4 separate regions of the Homo sapiens genome follow, and all the other regions are linked to region 2. Evidence: promoter capture Hi-C in human tissues and cell types (Jung and others, 2019). All regions are on one chromosome and are shown on one strand. Each heading gives the region's core, a stretch centred on a gene start or on the middle of the fragment in contact. The rest is flanking DNA. Distances are from core to core; before and after follow the strand shown.

Region 1 (4,309 bases), core at 1-2,500, 270 kb before region 2:
CTGCCTTTCTCTGGCCCCTTCCCCTCCAGGACCGTCTCCTGCACCCCCTCCTTCCCAGAATCAGCGCTGCACCAGCCCTGAGCTGGGTCCCTGGCCTTGGTCCTGACAAAGCCAGCCTCCCCCCCCGATCCCCTGTTCCCCAACACTGTTCGGAGGGCAGATCCTTTGGCAAGCAGCGCCCCCAACCCGCCCCGCCCGAGCCCCAGGTTGGCTCCTGCAGGGGATGAGAACCAAGGGCCAGCCCAGCTCTCTCGCACCTGCTGTGTGACCTTGGGCCAGGGACAGCCTCCCAGGACCAGGGGACACGACGTCCCCTTAATGATTTAGGCAGGGGTCCCTGCACAGCTGCACCAACGCCCCTTTCTGCGTGGCCCCAACATCTGCGAGGTGGGCTAACAATGGAGGGAGGGGCGCGCCACGGTGCAGCCTCCACACCCCACAGCCCGGCTTTGTTCCCACATCCAATCCCCAGACTGGTAGACCCTGGGTGGGCGCGGTCAAGCCCCGCGGGGGTTGCCCAGGAGCGGCTGCGCCGATGGAGAGCCTGGTCCTGGACCAAGGTCATCTCGAGTCCAGGCCCAACCCCTCCAACAAAGGGACAGGGTGGAGCTAGGACGCCGAGGGGTGTCGGAGCAGGCTGGGGAAATCGGGGCGGCTCTAGCCTCTCGGGGGACGTTCGGCTACTCCAGTGGGGGGTTCGGGCCGAGGAAATCACGGCTGTGAGGAGAACCCCCCACCCCACCCAAACCTGCCTACCCCACCCGTCTCACTCAAGGCTATGCCGCGGCCCCAAAAAAGAGGGCCACGCCCAGACAGGGCTCCCAGCTGCACCTGCGGAGGCCCGGTGGAGGGGGTGCAGGTGTGGAGGGGGCGCAGGTGTGGAGGGGGCTGAGGCTTCGCGACTGACGTGAGCTGCGCCTCGACAGCCCGAGGTCACCTGGGCAGGGGCAGAGAGGTGCAGGCGAGAGTCCCAGGGCGGGGGCCCCGCGTCCCGGCCGCCCGGCGCGGCGCTGGGCGCATCCCTTTGTTGCAGGTTCGCAGGGGCGGGGGCAGCTGGAGGTGCGGCCCGCGGGGCACGGCGCCTCCCTCCTCCCGCCCCGGGGCCCGGGACAGGCCGGGGCGCGCAGCCTCACCTTGGCCCCGATCTGGTTGCCGCACTGGCCGGCCTGGATGTGCACGATCTCCCTCATACTGGGCGCGTCTGGCGGGCGGCTGCGGACGGGCGCGGGCGGGCCGGGCTGGCTGCTGAGGGTCGGGGACCGCGGCCGCGCGCTCTTATAGCCGCGGCCCCGCCCTTCGCATCGGCTGATGTCACCGCGGGTGGCCAATCGGGAGGCGCCGCCGCAGAGCCCCGCCCGGCCCGCAGGCTCCGCACCGCGCGTCCCCGCCCGCCGCGCGCAATGCGGCGCCCCTCCCGCAGCCAAGGATCCCCCAGCGCTGGGCCGGGCGCGGTCTGAGGGCCCCGCGCATTCGAAAGGAGGGGCTGTCTCCCAGAGGAGCTGGCTGTGGGGGCGCCGGGCTCCAGGGAGGACAATGGCCCCTCTTGGCCCTGGGAACCCCGCCCCCAGCTACCCTCTCGGTTCCGCCCTTGCGACAGCCCCACCCTGCGGCTTTGTACGGAGGGTCTTTTTTCCCCACGCCGGTTTAGAGACCAACCCGCACCATCCCAGCTCCCTGTCTTTTGGCAGACAAGGTGCTCTGAGCTTTTGCCGGTTTTGGGTGGGGGAGGTAGGTAAAGGCTGGCCCAGGCCCTGAACCCACTGAGAAGAAACAAAGCGTCGGATCAGAGCTCGGAAGGGCGCGAACACAGAGGGGTGGCGGCGGCCGAGAGCGAGCTCCGTGGGTCGCCGGCTTCCGCAGTGGGCGGGGAGGGGGTGGGCACCCGACCTCCTCCACCAAGGGGCTGCCATGAGCGTCCAAAGGAGCTTTGTGGGCCCGGGCGCGCACAGCACCTGGACGTGCCACTGCCCGGTGCGCATCCGTGTCAGGAATTGTCACAAGGACGCACAAGCCAGGCAAGAACCCGGCCAGGGTGGGGGAGGGTGGGCAGCGGCTTCTATCTGACTCACTCTCTGAGGTCGGAGACTGCGTGCAGGGGGGCCTCGGGGGAGCGACTGGAGATGCGTTTACTGGTCAGAGAAGGAAGGGAGCAAAGGACTCGCCGGCACGGCACTGACCTCCTCCTGGGCCAGATATTACAGTGCCACCACCTTAGAACAAGGGCCTTCTGATACTTCAGTAACAAAAATCCTTCAGGAAGGGTCTGACAGTGCACGATGTACAGACGAACCCCACCCGGCCCCCAAATCAGCATTCACTTCACAAAATGAGCAGCTGCGAACTTGCCTGTGGACGCCTGTGTCCGGTCTGTGTGCACAGGGCTGTGTGTGGGTGGCGTGGACCTGTACCTGTCTCTCTCTTTTCTCTCAAGAAGCTCTCCAGTTTGGAAAGTCGAGAAATGGATCTTTTGTTCTCAAGAGATGCCCCTCCCTGCCCCACAGTGTGCTCGTGTGGCTGCTGCTGGGGTCTAGCTGCCTGGGGTTCCTCCCTGTCCCTGTTCAAGGGAGTCCGGGGTGAGTGTCTGAGGTGCCTCCCTGTCTCCACGAGGGAAGAAGTTTTGCAGCCTCAGGGCAGCCAGCTCCTGCTCCATCCTCAGAGGGGTCTGGTGCCGGGCTTAAGGCTGACTCACCGTCCGGTCTCCCAGCAGAGGCGGGCCCTGCCAGGAAGCAGCTCCCAGTTCTGAGGCCGGCAGTCAGGGGTGGGGCTGGCCAGGGGGCTGCTGACTGAGCCTGCGTAGGAGTCGGCTGATGGCCCTGCAGCCTCCATTGAGCCTGTCCCAGGAAGGGGGCTGACTGAGTGCTCAGTCTCTGCAGAGGAAATGGAGGTGGTCTCTTCAGCGAGACGCCCAGGTTTCAGCAGAGGGATGGCCCAGGGGCGCCACTGCTCCCCAGCACCAGGCAGCATAGTTCATCCCCAGGTACTCACTCCCAGGGACTTCTCCGCCGGCTGGGCCTCTGCCTCACTGCCATCTTCAGAAGCCTCACATCAAGCATTTCCCAGGACTGGCTGAACACAGACCCTCCACCCCCGACCCCTTCCCCACCTGCCTACTCCCAGAATGGCAGTGCTGGGCAGACAGCAGACCCAGCCCCCAGCCCACCTGCACTGAGCCCCCTTCCAGGCATCTCAGAGTGGACAGGGATGGTCCCATTCACGGCTCATCATGGCTGGAGGGACTCAGGGCCAGGGCCAGCAAAGGGATGTGTCCCGGCTGAGGTCACATGTGGTCACAGGGAAGGCTGGGAACCCGCCTCTTCTGCAGCTAGGACAGCGTCAAGAGTGGAGGGGACTGGGGCCCTGCTGCACCTGCTCGTCCTTCCTCTAGGCTGGGGTTTGTCAGCACGGAGAGAAAACCGAGAAGCAGGGTCAGCGCAAGCCTGGTTGGGACCTCCACACTCCCCAGGCATTTGGGGCCTCTGGGGCTGTGGCTTCCTCACCTGGGGAGGCAGCCACGTTTTCCGGGACTCCTTTCTTCCCTCTCGACTCTCACCCCTGCCCACCTTCCCCTCCCCCATCCCTCCACCCGCAAACTTCAAGCACTTTCTGGAAGGGGCTAAGGTGGGTGATGCTGAGTCACATTTATTACCAGACTTTCCTGGCCCCATGCTCACAGGCACTGGTCACTGAGTCAGGCATTTGCCAGGGCTGTCTGCTTGGGCGACTGCTGCAGGAAAGCAGGCTGAGGCCCCAGTGCCCAGTCTGAGCCTTAGAACCGGCCCTCAGGAGGGCTCAGCCCCATACCACTAGGGGGGCTCCTGCAAACCTGGTCCCTTGGCCTGAGGCAGGGATTTCACCTCCTTTTGCAGGAGCCGCTGCAAGGCTGTGGATGAAGCTTTCTGGTCACAAAGCCCCTTCTCCTGGGGCTGCTGTGGGAGTAGCTCTTGGCACACACTTCCACCCAGAGACTTCACATCCCAGCTGACGAGGGCACGGTCCTGAGAGCTGGCAGCAAAGATGGGGTGGGGTGGATGCTGCTCAGTCATTGGAGCAGACGGAGTGTCCCAGGAGTGGGCGGAAAATGTCTCTTTAGGAGCCTGAGGTTGGCCCCTGGTGCCCGGAGCCTGAGGCCCCACAACCTCCCCATGTCCTCCTCCGTTCCCCACGACTGCTGGTGAGAAGTCCTGCCTGGAGTTTTGCAGGGACCCCTCCCTGGACCCAGAAGGGTCCGCGCTTCAACACTTTCAGAGATCATTTAGTCCATCCTCTTTGACAAACGGGGACCAGGGAGGTAAGGAACTGCCCAGGGTCA
Region 2 (5,634 bases), core at 1,450-3,949:
AGGCGGTCCTCCTTCCCCCACTTCCGTTACTGGCAGAGGTCCTGCCCACTCCCATGCTTCACAGCTCCCTCCAGCCCCTGGTGAATTTGCACCATTGAATGAGTCCTGCAGAGGCTGGGCAGGCGAAGCCTTCCTGGGAAAGGTTTCCTTGCTAATATGAAGCAAGGAGCAATGCCTTTGCAGTAGATGCAGTCCTGCCTGCGTGTGGGGGGCTGTACACTCATCGGGGGCTGTGGACACTGAGAGTGGTCAAGAAGAGACACGCAAAGTCTTTGATGTCACTGTTGTGCTAACAAGCCAACCTGGAAGCTCCACCTCTGACCCTTCATTCGTGAGACATTAAATCCCTGTGTTAAAGCTGCGTTTAGTGAGCTTTTCTGTAACTTTCAGCTAAAAGCACCGTGACAGACAGGTAGCATTTTCCAAACTGCCACCCAAGGGTGATGCTATTCCTGCAGGGTTCCATCCTCCGGTGGGGGGTTGCGCCCTCCTGTGAGGGGTTCCACCCTCCAGTGGGAGGTTCCAAAGTTGGGAATTCAAATCCAAGTCTTTCTTCCAAGTCCAAGGCCCAGAGCCTCCTACTTTCAGCCCTTGATCCTACAAGCGTGTCAGTGTGAAGCAGTCCAGGCCCAGCTCCTCTGCCTAGCAGGCCAGTCATCCCCCTGACATTCTTTCTTGTCTGACCCGAGTGGTTCTCTCCTTATTATTTTTTTTTTTTTCTGAGACAGAGTCTCACTCTGTAGCCCAGGCTGGAGTGCAGTGGTGCGATCTCGCTCACCACTACTTCTGCCTCCCGGGTCCCGGTTCAAGGTTCGAGCAATTCTCCTGCCTCAGCCTCCTGAGTAGCTGGGATTACAGGCACATGCCACCACGCCCAGCTAATTTTTGTATTTTTAGTAGAGACAGGGTTTCACCACGTTGGCCAGGCTGGTCTTGAACTCCTGACCTTAAGTGATCCACACGCCTCGGCCTCCCAAAGTGCTGGGATTACAGGCGTGAGCCACTGCGCCCAGCCGAGTGGTTCATTCTTGTGATGAAACTTAAAACACCTCCTCCTGGCACAGGCCCCCAATCTCCTCGGACGGCAGGCTCTGCGGGTTCTCCCTGCCTGACCCTTCTGCAATTCCTACTGCAAGGCCTTGCTGGCTCCCACTGGGCCACAGCAATGGGTCTCTGACCGGGCCACCTCCCCTGCGAACTGGCTTCCCCTGTTGGTAGGCACAGACCTCATCATGCCGCCCTTGTTTTTTATTTTTAAATATTTATTTTTTGTAGAGACAGGGTCTCACTATGTTGCCCAAGCTGGTCTTGAACTCCTGGGCTCAAAAGATCCTCCTGCCTCGGCCAAATAACTGGGAGGACAGGTGTGAACTACCGCCCCAGGCAGCACCTCCGTTGTTTAAAATATTTAACGCTTCCAGCTCCACGTGGTAAAACTGATGGAAAACTTTGTATTCTAGCTTCTTCCTACTTTTGGGGCCTCATCTTCCCCACACACACCCAAAGGTCTGGCCACACTAGGCTGTTATAAAAGACACCTTTGTCGCACCCAGGTTCTACTCCTCGGTCACCCTCCGCAATGTACTTATCCCCACAGCCCTCGGAGAGCTACAGTCCAGCCTGGGACGGCCTCCCAATGCTCTGTTCCAGTGTGCGGAGGCTCAGGGATTCTCAGTGGCACCAAGATACCCAGCCCTCGAGGAGAACCTCAGGTGAGACACACGCACACTGCCCCAGCCCCTCGACCACCTGGTACGCACTTATCACTCGGGAACTGACCTACATTTTCATTAAACTTATGTTTTCAACTAAGATTTCTGGATATTTACCTCCTACATAAAGTTCCCAAAACAAACCAGTTTCATCTTTACGGCGCGTGCCTGCTACTAGTGTCCATCCGGTAGGGTCTTACAGTAGGCTCCTCACCCCAGCCCCAGATCCTCCAAGCCACTGACCTCGCTTCGCTCCCTCCCGCCGTCTCCTACCTTCCAGCGAAGCTGCCGGCGGCGGGTGCTTGGCTGTCCCGGCCCCCGGGTGGAGGCTGTCCACAGGCTTCTCCGACTCCCTGTCTGCCTGCCTGGCTTCCTGGGAATGCTTCTCCATCAACTTCTCCTTAGATTTTGGAACTGAATAGGTGGATCCCTTCTTTTGCTCCTCACCTGAAATATATGGATCATCCGTTAGACCCGGGACTTACCGAATGCAGGGCAGTGGGTCCCATCGTCTTCAGTCGCCTGCGTGGGTCCAGAATAAGCTGGCTTCAAGTCTCGAGTCTCCGCGTTTCCGTAACCGCCTCAGGCGGGAAACGCGCCGTCCGTGGCGGACTCGGCGGCAGGAACGGTTCGCACCGGGCCGAGCCTGGCGCCTGCGCTCACACCGCCCCGCCCAGCCCAGCCCCGCCCTGGGCCCGCGCCCAGGGGCGGAGACGCGGGGAGCCCAGCGCCTGCGCCTCCTTTACCTTTCCTGGGTTTCTCTTTGCTTTTGGAAAGGCCCATGGGTGAGCCCACCGCCCCCTCCGACGCAAGCCCGGGTCCCCACACCTCCGCGGCCGCGGAGCCGGGAGCGACTCACAAAAGGTCCTCGCGCCAGCGGCGTGCGTCACCATGGCGACCGCGCGCCGCGCAGCCGCGCCCCGCCCCTCTGGCGGGACCGGCCACCATCCTCTCGCGAGAGCATCCCGTGCGACCGGAAGTGGGGCGGCGACCCCGGAAGTCCCCGCCGGGTGCAGCTTGGTCGGTTCGATCGCCGCCGGGACCTGACACCGCCCGGAGTTGGCGTCCCTTCTCCCTCTCCGAGTGCTGCTCCTGTCATTGTGGCCATGGACGGTAAGAGGTCGCGGCCGTCCTCCGGGGACTCGCGCGCGGGGCGGGGCCGCTTCTCCCACTGGCGTGGGCTCCGCCCACCTGGGGCCGCGGGCAGGACTCAGGAGAGCTCGGGCCTCGACCGTCGATCCCCCGGGACCCCATCCCCAGGGCCTCGACCACCGACCTGGGACCCCTTTTCCCGGTCGTCGTCCCCCGATCCCCGACCCGGACCCCATCCCCAGGGCCTCGACCACCGACCTGGGACCCCTTTTCCCGAGCCTCGTCCCCCGATACCCGACCCGGAACCCCTTCCCCAGGGCCTAGACCACCAACCCGGGACCCCTTTTCCCGGGCCTCGACCCTCGATCCCCGACCCGGAACCCCTTCCCCAGGGCCTCTACCACCGACCCGGGACCCCTTCTCCCGGGCCTCGACCCCCGACCACCGACCGGGACCCTTCCCAGGCCCCCGACCCCCAACCCGAGATCCTTTACCCCGGGCCTCGACCCTCGACCCGGGACCCCTCCCCCCAGGCCTCGATCCCCGACCCCCGATTCGGGACCCCTTCCCCGGGGCCTCCATCCCCAAATCTCAACCCGGTATGCCTTCCCCGGGGCCTCGACCTCTGACCCCCAACCATGGACCCGGGACCTAGACTCCCGACCCAGGACCCCTTGCCCAGGGCCTGGACCCCCGACCACCGACCCAGGACCCTTTCCCCCGCCCCTGGCACTCCTCAGCGTCAGGCGCCCTTTCCCGCCAGCTCGGTAGGGGGGACTGTGCGATGCCTGTTCGGCCTTTCGGGACTTGGAATGTCGGGTCAGAGGGCACCAGAAAAAGTGACAGTTGCACCCCCTGCCCCAAACAGCATCACTGCAAATCAGAAGGACTCAGACAGAAAGCGCTCCCTGAGTGCCAGGCCCTGGTCACAGCAGCTCTTTGCGTCCATTCTCCATGTGGGGAAGCAGAGGTTTGAGCAGGAGCCAGCACAAGCGTTTCTGTGCTCAATGGGTCGCCCTAATTCTTACCTTCTACATCTGGGGCTAGCCGGCTGTGTGCTCAGGGATACCAAAGAACAGGAAGAATCTGGCAAAATGAAGTCCTATGTTTGCTGAAACATCGTTGGGCTGGTGTGATGGGCAGGCTTTTAAAAATACTTTTTGAAGGGCTGGGCGCGGTGGCTCACGCCTGTAATCCCAGCACTTTGGGAGGCCGAGGCCGGCGGATCGCAAGGTCAGGAGATCGAGACCATCCTGGCTAACACAGTGAAACCCCATCTCTACTAGAAATACAAAAATATTAGCCAGGCGTGGTGGCGGGTGCCTGTAGTCCCAGCTACTCGGGAGGCTGAGGCAGGAGAATGGCGTGAACCCGGGAGGCGGAGCTTGCAGTGAGCCGAGATCGCGCCACTTCACTCCAGCCTGGGCGACAGAGCGAGACTCCGTCTCAAAAAAAATTCTTTTAGTTAGAAGTGTGAAAAGCTATAGTACCACCGTGTCATCATCATGAAGGAAATGTGTAGAGATTTTCTGCCCTGAGAGAAGATGAAAGATAACATCTACCTCCCGCCACAAAAAATATGCTGGCCAGGCCGGGTGTGGTGGCTCAGGCCTGTAACCCCAGCACTCTGGGAGGCCGGGCGCGGTGGCTCACGGCTGTAATTCCAGCACTTTGGGAGGCCGGATGTGGTGGCTCACGCCTGTAACCCCAACACTTTGGGAGGCCGAGGTTGGTTGATCACCTGAGGTCAGGAGTTTGAGACCAGCCTGGCCAACATGGTGAAACCCCGTCTCTTCTAAAAATACAAAAATTAGCTGGGCCTGGTGGCGTGCACGTGTAATTCTAACTACTTGGGAGGCTGAGACAGGAGAATCGCTTAAACCTGGGAGGCAGAGGTTGCAGTGAGCCAAGATGGTGCCGTTGCACTCTAGCCTGGGTGATAGAGTGAGACTCCGTCTCAAAAAAAAAAAAGAAAAATTGTGGCTTTTCACTCCACAGCTCACTCAACTCTTTTGAGGGGACTTCTCTCAAGCCCATGTCAGATTTCCTCAGAGTCAGATTTTGCCTTAGCTGGGTTTTTGTGCTGCCACACACGGCTGGAAGAGAAAGCTGAGGTGAGGAAAGCTGAGGTGAGGGAAAGCTGAGGTGAGGAAAGCTGAGGTGAGGAGAGCTGAGGTGAGGGAAAGCTGAGGTGAGGGAAAGCTGAGGTGAGGGAAAGCTGAGGTGAGGGAAAGCTGAGATGAGGAGGGCGGTTTGGCCAGCATCCCACAGTGAGTTGGGTGGGACGGCCCGCCTGGCCTGCACTGTGCCATCTGGGTCAGGCTGGCTGTTTTCCAGTCACAGATAACCTTGGCCGTGACCACACCTGAACTGATAGATGACAGGTTGAACTTGGCCTTGACCACGCCTGCACTGACAGGCGATAGATTGAACGATGCCCAGAGCTTTCTGGAACCCCGGGAGATCTCATCTTGGAGCCTTGGTGTGCATTTGTGAACACTCAGTAACCTCATTCTTTTACAGGCTCCATTTCCTCGTTGTGGCTAGTGTGGTAAAGCCCTTTCAGGAATCTGGGGTCAGGGTCGCTCTCCAAATTTAGCAGTTGAATGAATTGAGATCAATCCTACTTTTTAAAAAAAATATTTTTTCTTTTTTTTTTTGAGACGGAGTCTTGCACTGTTGCCCAGGCTGGAGTGCAGTGGCGCAATCTCGGCTCACTGCAAGCTCTGCCTCCCGGGTTCACGCCATTCTCCTGCCTCAGCCTCCTGAGTAGCTGGGACTACAGGCGCCCGCCACCACGCCTGGCTAATTTTTTGTATTTTTTGGTAGA
Region 3 (6,547 bases), core at 3,910-6,409, 350 kb after region 2:
GAACAAAACTGCCTTGAACATCCTTGTGCTTGTTTGTGAACACGTCATGGGAAACGCACCTGCAGCTCTCCCTCAAAGCCTCCCGGGCGTTTGCTGGGGTCTGCAGGGCCTGTCTTCTCCCAACTGTCCTGGTGGGGGTGCTGGTGTGCATCTCCTCGTGGCTGTCATTTGCATTTTCCTGATGAGAATCACCTTTTCAGGTGTTCGTTGTCTTATTTGGATATTTTCTTTTGTGAAGTGCCTGTTGGGTGGTGCCTGTAGGCAGTCTTGCCTTGACCGTGGACCTGGGGACAGTGTTCCTTCTGTCCAGGCTCCCTGGAGGCCTTGATCAGTGTGGGGCTTTCCTCCCACATCACAAACAGTGTGGAATTTTATCCCAGGCCTTTTCTGTAGCTGTTGACATGAGCACGTGGTTTTCTTTTCTTTATTTTCTTAATGTGGTGAATTACATTGCTTTTTAAATGTCTTGCATTCTCGAATCTATTCTTATTCCTATCATTTGTGTTGTCTTTTTTTATATATCCTGTCTATGTTCATAAGGTATGTTGGTTTATCATTTTCTTTTCATAGAATGCCCTCATCAGGTTCTGAGATGAGGGTGATGGTGGCCTCTTCACATGTTTGGTAGAACCTTCCCCTCATCAGGTTCTGAGATGAAGGTGATGGTGGCCTCTTCACATGTTGGGTAGAACCTTCACATGTTTGGTAGAACCTTCCCCTCATCAGGTTCTGAGATGAAGGTGATGGTGGCCTCTTCACATGTTTGGTAGAACCTTCACATGTTTGGTAGAAACTTTCCCTCATCAGGTTCTGAGATTAGGGTGATGGTGGCCTCTCTTCAGATGTCTGGTGGAACCCACCCCCTGGGCCAGGAGTGTTCTTGGAGGAAGGAGTTTAAGATTGGAGCTTCTTGCTGGTGTGTGCCATTCTTTCCTGGCGTTCCCCGACCCCAAGGAAGATGCCTATCTCATTCCAGGTGGGGACTGCACTCCGAGGGGGCCATAGAAAAGCTCAGTGGAGCTGCAGCCAGGCGGCGGGGGAGCTGCATCTGGGCACCCAGGCCGAGGGCCGGGAGGACCTGCACTGCTGGGGTGGGTGTTAACCCTCCGGAGGCCCGGGAGGGACCTGCACTGCTGGGGTGGGTGTTACGTTCCTGAGGCCCCGTCTCCCCAGAGACCCGTCTGGCACCCTCCTCCTGTCCCCGTGTCTCACTGGAGAGGTGGGCTCCGGTCTGCTTGGCAGCTTCTCTTTGACTCCAGTTGCACTCTGAGCTTGCAGCATGTTCTGGAAAGCTCTTTCATGGTCACTCAGGGATGTCTCAGATTAACTGTCAGGTTTGGTGGATGCAGGTTGGGTGGATGCACGTTTGGTGGATGCAGAGTGACTGAGCTGGAAGATGTATCAGGGTCCCAGGAGGCAGGACCGTGGCTGGGGATGCTTGGGCTTCTCCCAGGAACAGTTGGGCATCTCAGCCCTGGAGCAGCTGAGGCCTCCGGTGCTCTGAAGGCTTCGCTGACCACTGCACGGTATTTGCCGGCAGCTTACCTAGGGAAAGTTACAGAAAGAAGGCTTACTGATGGGGAAAGGCAGTGTGTGTGTCGCACCGTCCCCCTCCCCACGTCCCGAGTGCTGTGTGTGTCGCACTGTCCCCCTCCCCACGTCCCGAGCGCTGTGTGTGTCACACTGCCCCCTCCCCACGTCCCGAGCGCTGTGTGTGTCGCACCGTCCCCCTCCCCACGTCCCAAGCGCTGTGTGTGTCGCACCGTCTCCCTCCTGGGAGGTAGCGCACGTGTCTGCGGAGTGGGAGGTAGGTGGCGCGTGTCTGTGGAGTGGGAGGTGGCGCGTGTCTGCGGAGTGGGAGGTAAGTGGCGCGTGTCTGTGGAATGGGAGGTGGCGCGTGTCTGCGGAGTGGGAGGTAGGTGGCGCGTGTCTGCGGAGTGGGAGGTAAGTGGCGCGTGTCTGCGGAGTGGGAGGTGGGTGGCGCGTGTCTGCGGAGTGGGAGGTGGCACGTGTCTGCGGAGTGGGAGGTGGCACGTGTCTGCACAGTGGGAGGTGGTGCGTGTCTGCGGAGTGGGAGGTAGGTGGCGCGTGTCTGCGGAGTGGGAGGTGGCGCGTGTCTGCGGAGTGGGAGGTGGCGCGTGTCTGCGGAGTGGGAGGTAAGTGGCGCGTGTCTGCGGAGTGGGAGGTGGGTGGCGCGTGTCTGCGGAGTGGGAGGTGGCGCGTGTCTGCGGAGTGGGAGGTGGGTGGCGCGTGTCTGCGGAGTGGGAGGTGGCGCGTGTCTGCAGAGTGGGAGGTAGGTGGCGCGTGTCTGCGGAGTGGGAGGTAAGTGGCGCGTGTCTGCGGAGTGGGAGGTAGGTGGCGCGTGTCTGCGGAGTGGGAGGTGGCACGTGTCTGCGGAGGGGGAGGTAGGTGGCGTGTGTCTGCGGAGGGGGAGGTAAGTGGCGCGTGTCTGCGGAGTGGGAGGTGGCGCGTGTCTGCGGAGTGGGAGGTAGGTGGCGCGTGTCTGCGGAGTGGGAGGTAGGTGGCGCGTGTCTGCGGAGTGGGAGGTGGTGCGTGTCTGCGGAGTGGGAGGTAAGTGGCGTGTCTGCGGAGTGGGAGGTGGCGCGTGTCTGCGGAGTGGGAGGTAGATGGCGCGTGTCTGCGGAGTGGGAGGTGGGTGGCGCGTGTCTGCGGAGTGGGAGGTGGGTGGCGCGTGTCTGCGGAGTGGGAGGTGGGTGGCGCGTGTCTGCGGAGTGGGAGGTGGGTGGCGCGTGTCTGCGGAGTGGGAGGTGGGTGGCGCGTGTCTGCGGAGTGGGAGGTGGGTGGCACGTGTCTGCGGAGTGGGAGGTGGGTGGTGCGTGTCTGCGGAGTGGGAGGTGGTGCGTGTCTGCGGAGTGGGAGGTAAGTGGCGCATGTCTGCGGAGTGGGAGGTGGCGCGTGTCTGCGGAGTGGGAGGTGGCGCGTGTCTGCGGAGTGGGAGGTAGGTGGCGCGTGTCTGCGGAGTGGGAGGTGGCGCGTGTCTGCGGAGTGGGAGGTGGCGCGTGTCTGCGGAGTGGGAGGTAGCGCGTGTCTGCGGAGTGAGAGGTAGCGCGTGTGTGTCTCCTCTGCTTTCTCCACACACACCAGCGATTTCCTGAGCGTCCCTCCGGTGCGCAGGATGAGAAATGGGCCAGAGTCAGGGCTGAGCCACAGCCCGACCCCGGGCTTCTGGGTGAAGGTTCTGCGGTCGGTGACCAGCCTCACACAGCCACGCCCTGGGGTGCAGGGAGGGTGTTCATTGCCCAAATAAGAGATGCGCTTCTCCTGGCATATGAAACAAAATCTTGAGAGCTTGAGAATGTAATTTGGACATCACGACTGAAAGCATCCCTTTCTTTTCTAGGATAAAGATAAAGTTTCTCTAACCAAGACCCCAAAACTGGAGCGTGGCGATGGCGGGAAGGAGGTGAGGGAGCGAGCCAGCAAGCGGAAGCTGCCCTTCACCGCGGGCGCCAATGGGGAGCAGAAGGACTCGGACACAGGTACCAGCCCGCGGCCCCTCCTGCAGTCAGCCCTCCACAGGCAGCCCGGAGCAGCCCAGGCAGGGCGTCCCTGGCCCCCGCACCTCCGGCTTTGCACTGGGACGCACTCTAGCACCCTGCACGCCGTCCAGGCAAGAGGCAGCAGGGGCGGAGCACAGGCCCCCACATGCCACCTCCTTTGCACCCGAGGCTCAGGCCCATGGGGCCGATTGGAGAGCTTCACTCTTGGGTCCCACACACGTGGAGATGCACCCGGTGCATGTCCAGCCCTGGGCGAGGTATGGGGCTGCTCACCTGTGGGTCTTCTGACAGCTGGACACGGGAGGGAGACAGTGGTTCCCCTCAGGGCCACAAAGGCACAGGAAGAAACTCCATTGCTTGTAGTAAAAACCAAAGGGAGCCCTAAAAGTGAGCAGGAGGCAGGGAGGTCTTCCCAAGCACAGGCGGGGTCTGAGGCTGCAGAGCAGGAATGTGTGTGCTGTGTGCCTGTGCCAGAGTGTGTGCCCAAGTGTGTATGCCTGTGTGTATGTGTGCCCATGTGCACATGCCCGTGTATCTGTGTGCATGCCCTCATGTGTGTGCCTGTATGTATGCCCGTGTGTGTGCCCGTGTGTGTATGTACTTGTATGTACCCATGTATGTGTGTGCCCGTGTATGTGCTTGTGTGTACCCATGTGTGTGCCTGTATGTGTGCCTGTGTATGCGTGCCCGTCTATGCCCGTGTATGTGTGCCCATGTGTGCCTGAGTATGTGTATGCTTTTGTGTGCCTGTGTGTGCCTGTATATATGTGCGCTCATGTGTGTATGCCCATGTGTGCGTTTGCATGTGTGTGCATGTGCATGCCTGTGTATGCGCCCGTGTGTGTGTGCATGCCTGTGTGTGCCCATGTGTACGTGTGTGCCTGTGTGCCCATGTGTGCATGCCTGTGTGCCCGTGTGCAAGCCCATGTGTGTTCATGTGCACACGCTCCTGGTGGGGTCAGCGCCTTCTGCAGTGACACCTTCCCAGTGGATTCTGTCTTGAGCTGCTTGCAGGGAGCCCAGAGGCCTCTGCGCTGGCCGTGCTTGCTCTTTGGTGATTCTTGTGTCCAGAGGCCTCCTTGTCCTCCTGGTCATCCAGCTTCTCTACAGCCCTGCTGGGGAAGGTTGGAGGCAGTAGAGCACTAAGCTGGCCACAAAGCCTGGAGTGAACCGGGAGAGTGCTGAGTCAGGCCCTCGGCTCTGTCCCTGGCTTCCTGAGACTTCTTGAATGCAGCCATAGCACAAGGCGTAGAGGCTGTGCCAGGATGCGGGCTTGAGAGCAGATGGGGGAAGTGGTCCAGGTGAGAAGAGCTCGTGATACGAAGGAGATTGTTGAAGAGGAACGGCAGCAGGCACAGCCAGTAAAGAGGATCCACACCCCAGCTTTTGTCAGCACAGCTCAGCAAGCTTCAGCCTTTATGATTGTGTGGCTGCCGCAGGCCTGTGGCCCCTCCTGTCCTATGTGGGGTGCTCCAGGGATGTGCTCACAGTAGCCAGGTGGAGACTCTGCTGAGTGAAAGGCCAGCAGAGAGGGCTGGTTTTCCCAGATGGGAAGTGAGGGGCAGGTGCAGTGCCAGGCACATGGCTCCTGTCTCTGGGCCAGCACATCTGGGGACAGGAAGGCTGCAGGGACACCAGCACAGGCCCAGGAGGACTCCTCTTCCCAGCAGCGGACAGCTCCGAGGAAGAACACTGGGAGACACGGGGAAGTGAGTGGACAGAATGTGTGGATGGGTTGTGTAAGGGACCTCAGCCCCCAGAAGGGAGGGCCTGGGTGACTCCCTGGAGCTCCCAGCGGTGCTGTGTACTCTCGGGCTTTAGGCCTAGAGAAAGTCAGTCCAGGCCTGAAACCCTGTGTTTGCCGTCTTTGGTCCCCATGCTGGTTTTGGTTGTAGAAGGCCGTCATGTTGATACGTAGCTGTTAGCTCTTTGCACAGTGGCCATGCGGGAGTTGGCCTCAGACCTTTGAGGTGTTTCTGTGATGTCTCTGGAGGTGTTGCTGAAAGGGTTAATGAGACAAGCATCTGCTTCTGCTTCCTGGGAGAATGATCCCACTTGGTAAGGTGGCGTTCCCAGGGCTACCTGGTGCCCACCCCATCTGGCTGCTCAGGTCTCTTTGTGGTGGCCGTTTCATCATGGTGCAGAGAAGCTCTCACCCAGGGCCCTGTTGTGTTGTCAGAAGCTTCCGGGGTCTGTCTGTTGATGGTTAGCGCCTGCGTGGTGCCAGCCGTGCTGGCCCACTGAGGCCATTCTCGCTCTCTGTGGGTCTCTGGGATATTTTCTGCCACAGCCCTGGGTGCTCCTGGAACTGCGTGTTGAACACCATGTCCTTACTCTGTGAGGGGCAGGCCTAGGTGAGGACAGGGTAGGTGAGAATCCCTGTGAGGTGGGAAAACAGTAAAGAACATTTTGAAAATAGAATTTTCCAGGCAAGGATTGTAACAAAAAGACCTAAGAAACGTAGTATTTGTCCTCCTGTGTTTATCACCCTTTCGGGGCCAATTTTAATAACTTCTTGTTTAATGTTGCAAAACTAGATTTCCTAGGAAGATTGTTCTGATGTATGAGTGTGGAGCGTTGCTTATCCTAGAAGCTTGCATTTTAACCAGGACCCTCTTAAAGTAGCAAGTCCACAGCCAGGCGCGGTGGCTCACGGCTGTAATCCCAGTACTTTGGGAGGCCGAGGCGGGCAGATCACAAGGTCAGGAGTTCGAGACCAGCCTGACCAACATGAAGAAACCCTGTCGCTACTAAAAATACAAAAATTAGCCAGGTGTGGCGGCGGGTGCCTGTAATCCCAGCTACTCGGGAGGCTGAGGCAGGAGAATTGCGTGAACCCAATAGGTGGAGGTTGCAGTGAGCCAAGATTGCGCCATTGCACTCCAGCCTGGCAACAGAGCAAGACTCCGTCTCTAAATAAATAAATAGTAGCGAGTCCAACTCCAGTGCGTTCAGCCCCACCCTGGGCCGGGAGGCTGCTGGGCGCTGTGGCTCTCACACACGCCGCGTCCCCTCCTTCCCCCAGA
Region 4 (5,775 bases), core at 658-3,157, 420 kb after region 2:
CAAACACGCAGATCTGTCGTCATCTAGGTCCCGTCTGCCCTGTGTGCCCTGTGAAATGGTGCCAAACATCCGCTAGCCACAGAAAAACCGACACCTGAGAGCTGTCGGTCCCCCAGCCCCGGCTGCCCTTCAGACGGTACCGACCGCGGCTCCCGCCGGGCTGCTGAGTGTGTCACTGTCGCCCAGCACACGAGCCCCTCTCCGATCCCCCGAGTTCCTCACCGAGTCCCTTACCCCCGGAAGTCCCTCGCTCTCCTCCCTTCCCCCCGGAAGTCCCTCGCTCTCCTCCCTTCCCCCCGGAAGTCCCTCGCTCTCCTCCCTTCCCCCCGGAAGTCCCTCGCTCTCCTCCCTTCCCCCCGGAAGTCCCTCGCTCTCCTCCCTTCCCCCCGGAAGTCCCTCGCTCTCCTCCCTTCCCCCCGGAAGTCCCTCGCTCTCCTCCCTTCCCCCCGGAAGTCCCTCGCTCTCCTCCCCTTCTGAGCGGTGACCCCCACCCCGAAGCCGGCGAGGCACCGCGGAACCCGGTCTGCCTGCGCTACCGCCCCCTGCTGGCCAGGCCCTCTTCCCAATCGCCCCGAAACCATTCACATCACCCACGTGTGCACGTTTTGTCCACATTTAGATCCCTGATCCATTTGCAGCTTATTCCTGTGAACGGTGTAATTTTTTGGGGGGCGGGGGGAAGGCGGGGTCTCGCTCTGTCACCCAGGCTGGAGTGCAGTGGCGCCATCTCGGCTCACTGCAAGCTCCACCTCCCGGGCTCAACCAATTCTCCTGCCTCAGCCCCCTGAGTAGCTGGGATTACAGGCCCGCACCACCATGCCTGGCTAACTTTCGTATTTTTAGTACAGATGGGGTTTTTCTTTTCTTTTCTTTTCTTTTGAGATGGAGTCTCACTGCTGCCCAGGCTGGAGTGCAGTGGCGCGATCTCGGCTCGCTGCAAGCTCCGCCTCCCGGGTTCACGCCATTCTCCTGGCTCAGCCTCCCGAGTAGCTGGGACTACAGGCGCCCGCCACCACGCCCGGCTAATTTTTTTGTATTTTTAGTAGAGACGGGGTTTCACTGTGTTAACAAGGATGGTCTCGATCTCCTGACCTCGTGATCCGCCTGCCTCGGCCTCCCAAAGTGCTGGGATCACAGGCGCGAGCCACTGCGCCTGCCCGAGATGGGGTTTCACCATGTTGGCCAGGCTGGTCTCGAACTCCTGATCTCAACTGATCTGCCCCCCCTTGGCCTCCCAAAGTGCTAGGATTACAGGCGTGAGCCGCCACACTCGACCTGAACGGTGTAATTTATACATGTAAAACCATCTTGTTCAGACAGCTCACCAGTTGTCCTAGCACCTTTCATTACAAACTGCATTTTTGCCCCACTGATCTGAAATACCCACTTTATTAACTAAATTTCCATGTTGCTAGGTCTATTTCCAGATATTCCATTTTTGTCCATCTGTCTGCTTCCTGGTCATGTGTCACATACCTTAATTACAGCGGCTTTAGAGGATGCTGCAGTGTCCACAGGGAAGCATCAGTTTTGTCTCCTGGGTTTCTTGGGCACCATCAGACGTCTGTGCCCCCACATGAACTTCAGCGTCAATCTGCATTAACTCCACAAAAAGCTTTTGGTGCTGTTGTAACTGGGATTATGTTTCATTTCTGAATTAAGAATGGGATTTTTATGATGTTGTCATCCCATCAAAGAACAAGGAATTTGCCCGTTTGTTCAAGTCTATGTGGTTTTTTTTTTTTTTTTTTTTTTTTTTTTTTTTTTTTGAGACAGTCTTGCTCTGCCACCCAGGCTGGAGTGCAGTGGTGTGATCTTGGCTCACTGCAAGCTCCACCTCCTGAGTTCACACCATTCTCCTGTCTCAGCCTCCTAAGCAGCTGGGACTACAGGCGCCCGCCACCACACCTGGCTAACTTTTTGTATTTTTCATAGAGATGGGGTTTCACCATGTTAGCCAGGATGGTCTCGATCTCCTGACCTCGTGATCCACCCGCCTCAGCCTCCCAAAGTGCTGGGATTGCAGGCGTGAGCCATCGCGCCTGGCCTAGAAGTTTTTAATTAGCCTGGTGTGGTGGTGTGCACCTGTAGTCTCAGCTACTTGAGAGGATGAGGAGGAAGGATCGCTTGAGCCCTGGAGGTCGAGGCTGCAGTGAGCTGTGATCACACCACTGCACTGCAGCCTGTGGGACAGAGCAAATCCCCATCTAAAAAAAAAAAGTGTTTTAAAGTTTCCTCATGGCCGGGCACGGCCCGGTGGCTCACGCCTGTAACCCCAGCATTTTGGGAGGCCGAGACGGACAGATCATGAGGTCAGGAGTTTGAGACCAGCCAGGCCAACATGGTGAAATCCCGTCTCTACTAAAAATACAAAAATTAGCCGGGCGTGGTGGCAGGTACCTGTAATACCAGCTACTTGGGAGGCTGAGGCAGGAGAATCACTTGAACCCAGGAGGTGGAGGTTGCAGTGAGCCGAGATCATGCCACTGCACTCCAGCCTGGATGACAGAGCGAGACTCTGTCTCAAACAAACAAACAAACAAAAAGTTTCCTCATTTAGGTTTTATACATTTCTTGATAAATTTATTTCTAAGCATTGTTTTATTGCTATTATAAATAAGTTTTCTCTACTATCATATCACCTCACTGGTTATTGGTTGTGTAGATGAAGACCATCTATGTTTTGACGGCAACTTCACCTCCTCTAACTTACTAAATGTTTTTACTGATTCTACAGGGCTTTCCATGTATATCATATAATGCACACAAGAGATAGTTCACTTTTTTGCAAATCTGTTTTGCCCAATTGCATTAGGTAACACTTCCAGTACACACACACACACATATAGCTACAGACACAGGCGTCCTAAGAAAGTATTCACCAATTCCTATTTTGAGTGCGTCTATCAATAGTAGGTACCACATTTTCCCAAAGGCTTCATCAACACCTATGGATACAATCACATGCCTTATCTTCTTAGATGGATTCATATGGTGTAGTATTTAATAGGCTTTCTAATTGAACCAGTTGCAGTCTTAAATTCCACTTGGTCATGGTTTATTATTTTCTCAATGTGGTTTTGTATTATTTGCTAATATTTAACATAACTAATTTGAATCAATATAATTAACACTGTAATTTTTCATTTTTGTGGTCTTTTATCACATTTTGCTTTTAACTTTTATTTATGAGATGGAGTTTTGCTCTTGTTGCCCAGGCTGGAGTGCAATGGCGCTATCTCGGCTCATTGCAACCTCCACCTCCCGGGTTCAAGAGATTCTCCTGCCTCAGCCTCCCAAGTAGCTGGGATCACAGGTGCCTGCCACCATGCCCGGCTAATTTTGTATTTTTAGTACAGACAGGGTTTCGCCATGTTGCCCAGGCTGGTCTTGAACTGCTGGCCTTAAGTGAGCCAGCCACCTCAGCCTCCCAAAGTGTTGGGATTACAGGCATCAGCCACTGCACTCAACACCCTGTGGTAATTTTCTTTGTGCTGAAGTCATTTTTTCTGATGTTAAATACAGCCTCTCCACTTTATTATGTTTACATGGTACTATTAACCTATTTACGTCATTGTATTTGAAGTGTCTTGTAGATGACATACTGATGCGTCACACTTTTTATCTGTCCTATCTTTAAATAGCATGTGTAGATCATATTTTTTTTTTGAGATGAAGTCTTGCTCTGTTGCCCAGTCTGGAGTGCAGTGGCACGATCTTGGCTCATTGCAACCTCCACCTCCTGGGTTCAAATGATTCTCCTGCCTCAGGTTCCTGAGTAGCTGCGACCACAGGCATGAGCCACCAAACCTGGCTAATTTTTGTATTTTTAGTAGAGACAAGGTTTTACCGTGTTGGCCAGGCTGGTCTGGAACTCCTGACCTCAAGTGATCCACCCGCCTCGGCCTCCCAAAGTGCTGGGATTACAGGCGTGAGTGCCCAGCTGATCATGTGCACTAATGTGTTTGATTATCTAGGATTCAGCTCTACCAGTTATTTTTTATTTTTTATTTTAGACAGAGTCTTGCTGTCACCCAGGCTGGAGTACAGTGGCGCGATCTCAGCTCACTGCCACCTCCACCTCCCCGGTTCAAGTGATTCTCCTACCTCAGCCTCCCACGTAGCTCGAATTATAGGCTCCCACCATCACCCCTGGCTAACTTTGTATTTTTAGTAGAGACGGGATTTCACTATGTTGGCCAGACTGGTCTGACTCCTGACCTCAAGTGATCCGCCCGCCTCGGTCTCCCACAGTGCTGGGATGACAGGCCTGAGCCACCGCACCTGGCCACCACTTCGTTACCTACTTGTTCTCTTTTGTTCCCAGTACTCAGTTTCCCCTTTATCACAATTCTTTCAGGCTATTTAACACTTTTTTTAGTAGTATGTTTTAATTAACATATTGGACCATTTTAGTATATCTCATTGTCCTTTTTTTTTTTAGACAGAGTCTTGCTCTGTCACCCAGGCTGGAGTGCCGTGGCACAATCTCGACTGACTGCAACCTCCACCTCCTGGGTTCAAGTGATTCTCCTGCCTCAGCCTCCTGAGAAGCTGAGATTACAGGTGCCCCCAACCACACACAGCTAATTTTTGTATTTCTTAGTAGAGATGGGGTTTCACCATGTTGGCCAAGCTGGTCTCAAACTCCTGACCTCAAGTGATCCACCCACCTCACTCTCCCAAAGTGGTGGGATTACAGGCGTGAGCCACCACACCCAGCTGTACACTTCTTTAGTAATTAAAATATACAGACTTAGCTTTTCCAGTCCTTCTGGAATGGTATTTTGCCACTGAAATGGAGCACGGAACCTCCACGCCGTCCAGCCACGTTGCCCCTCACCTTCATGTTGTAGTTGTCTTATGTATTAAATATACATCAGTTGAAACCCCATGTGATAATTTTTGCTTTTGACAATAATATATATTTTAAAGAACTCAAGAGTAGAATGATCTGATCTATTTACTCAGGTATTTACTCTTCTATTGCTTTTCCTTTGTTCCAGGTTTCCTTAAGAGTTTTCTGTAACCATTTATTTAAACCAGGTCTGCAGGCAATTCTTTGTATTGCCTCATCGTTACTTCTGTTTCATTCCTAAAGGATATTTTGTTGGATATAGCAATCTGGGTTGGCATTTCTTTTTATTTCAGAACTTGAAAAATGCTCCTACATTTCCTGTTGGCCTCTATGGCTTCCGACGAGAAACCCGGTCAATTGAATTGTTCTTCTGGAAGCACTGTGTCCACTTTCTCAGCCTCCTTCCAAGACTTTCACTCTGTAGCTTTCGGCAGCTTCGTGGTGGCAGGGGCTTGGTTTTCTTTTCTTTCTTCTTTTTTGAGACAGAGTCTCGCTCTGTTGCCCAGGCTGGAGTGCAGTGGTGCAATCTCAGCTCACTGCATGCTCTGCCTCCCGGGTTCACGCCATTCTCCTGCCTCAGCCTCCCCAGTAGCTGGGACTGCAGTCGCCCGCCACCACGCCCAACTAAATTTTTGTATTTTTCTTTTTTTTTTTTTTTTTTACTAGAGACGAGGTTTCACTGTGTTGGCCAGGATGGTCATGATCTCCTGACCTTGTGATCCGCCCACCTCGGCCTCCCAAAGTGCTGGGATTACAGGTGTGAGCCACCGCCCCCGGCCTGGGCTTGGTTTTCTTTAGGTTTATCCTGTCTGGGGCTCATGGAACCTCTTCAAACTTAAGTTTTTATCTTACACCAAATATGAGAAATGTTTCATCATTATTTTTTCAAGTGGTTTTACTACATCACACTTTCTCCT

Evidence for each region. Contacts are between HindIII fragments. The study calls those that stand out against the background at their distance.
Region 1: the fragment with the promoter of TUBB3 here is called in contact with the fragment with the promoter of CHMP1A in region 2 in 1 of the 25 tissues and cell types used here (lymphoblastoid cells).
Region 3: a contact is called between a fragment that was not itself captured here and the fragment with the promoter of CHMP1A in region 2, in 1 of the 25 tissues and cell types used here (dorsolateral prefrontal cortex).
Region 4: a contact is called between a fragment that was not itself captured here and the fragment with the promoter of CHMP1A in region 2, in 1 of the 25 tissues and cell types used here (dorsolateral prefrontal cortex).

Annotation. Positions count from the first base shown.
Region 1 is chr16:89,920,283-89,924,591 of GRCh38, reverse strand. TUBB3 (tubulin beta 3 class III) reads right to left here and starts at 1,250. Exons shown (of 4, transcript NM_006086.4): 1 at 1,134-1,250. The coding sequence starts at 1,190. It overlaps MC1R (melanocortin 1 receptor), which reads right to left. Exons shown (of 1, transcript NM_002386.4): 1 at 3,620-4,309. RefSeq lists silencers at 994-1,243, 1,324-1,473, 1,494-1,583 and enhancers at 1,437-1,731, 1,654-2,537, 3,424-4,307, 4,308-4,309. The HindIII fragment of the contact is 8,728 bases long and covers 404-4,309 here.
Region 2 is chr16:89,654,773-89,660,406 of GRCh38, reverse strand. CHMP1A (charged multivesicular body protein 1A) reads left to right here and starts at 2,699. Exons shown (of 7, transcript NM_002768.5): 1 at 2,699-2,825. The coding sequence starts at 2,819. SPATA33 (spermatogenesis associated 33) reads right to left here and starts at 2,571. Exons shown (of 3, transcript NM_001271907.2): 1 at 2,459-2,571; 2 at 1,986-2,159. The coding sequence starts at 2,495. RefSeq lists an enhancer at 2,418-2,587 and silencers at 2,303-2,692, 2,913-2,972. The HindIII fragment of the contact is 33,607 bases long and covers 1-5,634 here.
Region 3 is chr16:89,302,159-89,308,705 of GRCh38, reverse strand. It overlaps ANKRD11 (ankyrin repeat domain containing 11), which reads left to right. Exons shown (of 13, transcript NM_013275.6): 4 at 3,362-3,500. Among named protein-coding and RNA genes, the nearest start is that of ZNF778, 88 kb to the right of the region's middle. RefSeq lists an enhancer at 1,509-2,175. The HindIII fragment of the contact is 5,718 bases long and covers 2,301-6,547 here.
Region 4 is chr16:89,235,739-89,241,513 of GRCh38, reverse strand. It overlaps ZNF778 (zinc finger protein 778), which reads right to left. Exons shown (of 7, transcript NM_001201407.2): 7 at 4,373-5,775. Among named protein-coding and RNA genes, the nearest start is that of ZNF778, 21 kb to the right of the region's middle. RefSeq lists a silencer at 397-486. The HindIII fragment of the contact is 4,092 bases long and covers 1-3,953 here.